2 separate regions of the Homo sapiens genome follow, and region 1 is linked to region 2. The links are contacts of gene promoters, found by promoter capture Hi-C in human tissues and cell types (Jung and others, 2019). All regions are on one chromosome and are shown on one strand. Each heading gives the region's core, a stretch centred on a gene start or on the middle of the fragment in contact. The rest is flanking DNA. Distances are from core to core; before and after follow the strand shown.

What was found. The method cuts DNA at HindIII sites, captures the fragments that hold promoters and counts their contacts. A contact is called where the count stands out against the background at its distance.
Region 1: a contact is called between a fragment that was not itself captured here and the fragment with the promoter of CCDC146 in region 2, in 6 of the 25 tissues and cell types used here (H1 embryonic stem cells, IMR-90 fibroblasts, aorta and 3 more).

The regions. Positions count from the first base shown.
Region 1 is chr7:77,212,598-77,215,453 of GRCh38, reverse strand. All of the region lies in intron 2 of CCDC146 (coiled-coil domain containing 146), which reads right to left. Among named protein-coding and RNA genes, the nearest start is that of FGL2, 14 kb to the right of the region's middle. The HindIII fragment of the contact is 4,628 bases long and covers 1-2,856 here.
Region 2 is chr7:77,121,186-77,124,030 of GRCh38, reverse strand. It overlaps CCDC146 (coiled-coil domain containing 146), which reads right to left and starts at 1,416. Exons shown (of 19, transcript NM_020879.3): 1 at 1,299-1,416. It also overlaps the pseudogene FAM185BP. RefSeq lists a silencer at 1,631-1,730 and enhancers at 1,626-2,125, 2,126-2,627. The HindIII fragment of the contact is 9,649 bases long and covers 235-2,845 here.

The DNA of each region.
Region 1 (2,856 bases), core at 357-2,856, 91 kb before region 2:
GGGAGGCTCCTTTGGAGAAATGACTGATTCCAAGTTTTGAGCATGGAAACAAATGAGCCTCCAATGCTTCTGTCATATCAGAAAAGCAAAAAATCTACCCAAGACTACTAGAATCATGTCAAAGGGATTTGGAGTCATGTCAAAAGGCTCCCACTACCCAAAAAATGGGCCAGGAGGACTGGCAATGAGCTAACAACTATAAAGGATGGGAATAACTATGTTTAAGTAAATGAGTTCACAGTAATACTTCAAAAAAAAAAAAACACCAAAAAAATAAAAACACCCCACAACACCTCTCACCTTTGAAGGATACTGGGGAATCAATTAATCATTTTGAAAACCTGAAAATCAAGTATTTATCATGCCTCTACAGCAGGGTAACCAAATAACTGAGTGGAAGCTTCTCTTTTTAGAAGGATTCTAATAAATAAGTGAAGAGAAAATAATAGTATTATAATATTGTCATTTAAAATTCCTAATGAATTAATAGACCCAGGCAAGTATTATTAATAGCAGGTAACATCACTAAAAGGGAGACAACCAATATCATGTGCCTCCTGATGAAAGTTCATGCAACCAAGAGGCATCCCATTTTGTGAATTCAAACTATACTACAAGGCTGTAGTAACCAAAATAGCACGGTACTGGTGCAAAAATAGACACACAGATCGATGGAACAGAACAGAGAACTCAGAAATAAAGCCATATACTACAACCAACTGATCTCCAACAAAGCTGACAAAAAGAAACAATTGGGAAAGGACGTCCTACTCAAAAAAATGGTACTGGAAAAAGTGGCTAGCTATATTCAGAAGAATGAAACGGTACCCCTGGCTCTCACCACATATAAAAATTAACTCAAGAGGGATTAAAGACTTGAATGTAAGACCTCAAACTATATAAATCCTAAAAGAAAACTTTTAAACATTAGACTAGAAAAAGAATTTATGACTAAGACCTCAAAAGCAAATGCAACAACAACAAAAATTGACAAATGAAATTTAATTAAAGAGATTCAGCACAGCAAAGAAACAATCAATGGAGCAAACAGACAATCTACAGAATGGGAGAAAATATTTGCTAACTATCAGGCTGACAAAGGACAAATATCCAGAATCTATAAGGAACTTAAATCAACAAGCAAAAAACAAATAACCTCATTAAAAGGTGGGCAAAGGACATGAACAGACACTTCCCAAAAGAAGACATATGAGTAAACAATCATATGAAAAAATGCTTGTCATCATCAGATAAATGCAAATGAAAACCACAATGGGATACCATCTCACACCAATCAGAATGGCTATTATTAAAAAGTCAAAATATAATATGTTGGCAAGGATGTGGAAAAAAAGGAATCCTTATACGCTGCTGGTTGGAATGTAAATTAGTTCAGCCCCTGTGGAAAACAGCATGGAAATTTTTCAAAGAACTAAAAATAGAACCACCATTTGACCCAGCACTCCCACTGCTGGGATTCTCAAAGGAAAAGAAATCATTCTATCAAAAAGACACCTGCACTCTTATATTTATTGCAGCACTATTCACCATAGCAGTCATGGAATCAACCTAAGTGTCCATCCATTAGGATTAGATAAAGAAAATGTGATACATATACACCATGGAATACTATGCAGTCATAAAAAAGAATGAAATCATGTCCTTTGCAGCAACATGAATACAGCTGGAGGCCATTATCCTAGGTGAATGAATGCAGAAACAAAATCAAAGTATTCATTTTCTAACTTATAAGTGGGAGCTAAACAATAGGTACACATGGACATAAAGATGGAAACAATAGACACTGGGGACTTCAGAATGGGAGGGAGGGCAGTGAGGGTTTAAAAACTGCCTACTGGGTACTATATTCACTATTTATGTGATGGGTTCAAGAGAAAGCCAAACCCAACATTATGCAGTATACCTGTGTAGCAAACCTGTACATATAACCTCTGAATTTAAAATAATAATTAAAAAGAAATGATAAATGTTTGAAATGACAGCTATGCTAATTAACCCGATCTGATTACTATACATTATAAGTATCAAAACATCACTATGGGTAGAGCAAGGTGGCTCATGTCTGTAATCCCAGTATTTTGGGAGGCTGAGGTGGGAGAATTGATTGAAATCAGGAATTTAAGACCAGCCTGGGAAATGTGGTGAGACCTTGATTCTACTAAAAGTTAAAAAAAAATTAGTCAAGCATAGTGGTGCACACCTGTGGACTCAGCTACTCGGGAGGCTGAGGTGGGAGGATGCTTGAGCCCAGGAAGTCAAGGCTGCAGTGAGCTGTAATTGCGCCACTGCACTCCAGCCTGGGTGACCAAGTGAGATCTTGCCTCAAACCACCACCACCACCACACAAAAAGCCATCACTATGTAAACCATAAATATGTACATGTGACAATAAAAAATTTAATAAAAACTTGAACAACAACAAAAAACAAAGTTGATGGCACCACCTAGAAAGTAGCCTTGGCAAAAAAAAAAAAAAAAAAAATTAATGTGACCTGGATAAAACATTTATGCACTAAGGCTCTATGATTATAATGGAAATACAGGCTTACTATTAAGCAAAATCCAGATTATGGAAAAATTTATGGGACAAATGGCCCAGCTTCTTAAAAAAAATTTTCTATTACATTACCACATTACCTTACCTCTTGCCATGTAGGCTAGAATCTGCTAATGACACTTACAGGCTTAGCCAATAACCATGAATAATTTACTCTTTTCTTTTTTGTTTATTTATTTATTATTTGTTTATTTATTTGAGACATATCACTGTGAATGGGATTTTTTTCTTCAATTTTTTTTTTTTTTTTTTTTTGAGACGGAGTCTTGCTCTGTCAC
Region 2 (2,845 bases), core at 167-2,666:
AAACCAGTGCCTTTTTCAAATTTCTTTTCAAAGTTACACCTGTCAATTTTCATAAAAAATAGTTTGAAGATTATTCTGAATAATTATAACCAATGAAACACAAAGACAAGAAAAGAACTATTGCAGTGGGCCCTTGCTGAACCTGAGCTAGCACCTATAATGAGTGAGTCTTCACCGAAAGAAGAATAAGGAGGGAGCAAGGACTAGAAGGACAGAAAAGAGGCAATGATAACTTAAGAGAACACTGAATTTTTAAAAATTTTAAAAAGGTAGTGGCTAGCAGAGAACCTGAGACTTGTACCCATGAGAACTTTAGCCCAGTCTATCTATCACGATAGCCCCAAGAATTCTGGTCATTGTACTTGGGTAAGGGCTTCAATTTTTTAAGGCACTTGCATTTTATGAAATGTTAGTGTTTGCAGGTGTCTTGGCTAAATAATTTAGGGAATACATTTTAGGAGGAAGTAGGGGCACAGAGGGGGAGAGAGAAACCAGGCAGGAAAGAAGAAAAAAAGAAGAAAATAAATCTTTCTGTTCCCATTATTTTACTGCCCATAGAATTATAAAAGGTAAACACACACACACACACACACACACACACACACACACACACACACACACACACACCTTATAGGGTCATTTAGAACCATCTTTCTTCATTTTAAAACTAAAGAAACAGGTCTAGGTGACACAGATGAAGCAGTGGCAGAGCCAGGAAAATAATCTGACCCTTGTCCCTGCTCTTTCCACCGCACCATGGTGACTCTCTTTTTTGTGTCTTTTTTTTTTTCACTCTAAAACTGATGATCATTTGTAGTCAAAGAGATCAATGCTATTCTCAAAACAAGTTCTGATCTCTCATAATTTTCTTGGTAACTCAGAATCAATGTTAAGTACGTTGAAATAAAAATACAGTACTTTACACGGTAATTTGGTAGACTGTGCACCACGGTCCCATCCATTTTCTTACTTGATCCTCACAAAAACCCTTTGAGGCAAGGCAAGGAAGGTATTATCATCTACATTTTTAAAGTGAGCAAATTAAAACCCAAAGTAAGGTCACTTAGGGTCAGGACGGAGCAAGTACTCTATTCCTATATTTGGAATATAGGAGGGAATACACTTCCAAAGAGGCAATTCCCTCAAAAAGCACCAATCTTGCTCTTTACTCTCTTACCAAGGCATTCTCCATGCCCTGGAGATGCCCGCACTAGGTTAGTGAAGCTTGGATCTTGACATCCACATAGGTTACTCCTAGTTTGCACCTAGTTGTCAACTTAAAAAGCGCAGTTTCTTACCCCTTCCCTTGGTCCTGATCCTTATTTAGGCTCCTATTTTTCTCTTTGGGATTTGGCCTCCTGGGTCTCACTCCAAAGCTCCACCCTCTCCAAACAAGAAGTCGCGTCCTTGGTATCCAAGGTGACCATGCAGCTTTACCCTCGTTGCCCCCTTCCGTGCTTCCCATTGGCCAGTGGCCTCCCATGTACCGCCCCTCCAATAGCCAATGGTCTTGAAACAAAGGGCGCCCGCCTTTCCAGCGATTCTAACACCTGCCCTCTTACCCGTGCTCCCCTGCGCATTGCCTCCTGGGATATGTGGTTTCTAAGAGGCGGAGCTCTGCGACTTTCCACCGCTTTAGAACTACGTATCCCGTCGGCCTTAGCGAAAGGGGGTGGACTTAGGCAAGGGGTCCAGGTCAGAGTTCAGAGCTTTCAAATCCCAACTTGCCCCTGGGGATTACGCAGCTGATGTTTACATCGCCTAGTCAAGCCAACCGGCTCGCTCTTGTTTCAGCAAACCCTGACTTACGTCTCCTATTTGACTTGAGGCGGCACAGTGGCCAAGTCGATTGGCCGTGGCAAGTGACCCTCCCTGTGGCTGAAGTGTTCTGAGGACTGGCGAGAGAGGCGCGCCATGCTTGCCCCCTGTTCAGGTTGGGAGCTTGGCTGCTTCCGTCTCTGTCTCCGTCAGGTCCGACTGTGGGCTGGCGCTGGGCGCTGGTCTTGCTGGGCTTGCCAAGCCAGGCCGTACAGCTCAGGTAGGGGCGAGCGCTGGCCCGGATCGGAGACTGAGGTCCCTCCGCCTGGCCCGGCGCGCCGAACTCTGAAGGAGTGGACACTGCAGGTGAGCCCGTTCGGTCGGCTGCGGGCGCGGCTCCCGTGCCACCTGGCCGTGAGGCCCCTGGACCCCCTCACCTACCCGGATGGCGACCGCGTGCTGGTCGCGGTGTGCGGCGTGGAGGGCGGCGTGCGGGGCCTGGACGGCCTGCAGGTGAAGTACGACGAGGATCTGGAGGAGATGGCCATTGTGTCTGATACTATCCACCCCCAGGCGTCCGTGGAGGTGAACGCGCCCCTGAAGTTTGGCAAGTGAAGTGAAGTGAAAACGGGTTTGGGTCCCAGGGAACGCACAGTGAACTTAATAAATTTGGTCGACGTGCACTTTTAATTGGTCCTGGCTTTCTAAACCTAATTTACAGTTGGCCCCTTCGGAAATGCAACTTTTCCTCTGTTCTATTCTTGAGTATCCGAGTAGTATTTAAAAAATTAGGTTCCCAATTATAGAAATTTTATACATCGAATGGAAACACGATTTGGTATAATCCAGGTCAAATTCTATTTCTGGAGCCGCTTGTGTTCTTCTTTATCCCGTTGTCATTAGCAAACTGGCTTATTTTTCAAGGTTGAAGTTTCTTGACAATTCATTCAATGGTATGGCAGTCCATCTACATTTCCCCTTGCTCACAGCCTGGGGGTGTGTCCCAAAACAGCCCTGTCAATAGGATGTTCCAGGTACCACCTGGTTTGAGTATTTGGTTTTAGACGGGCGCCCAGCTTCTTACTGT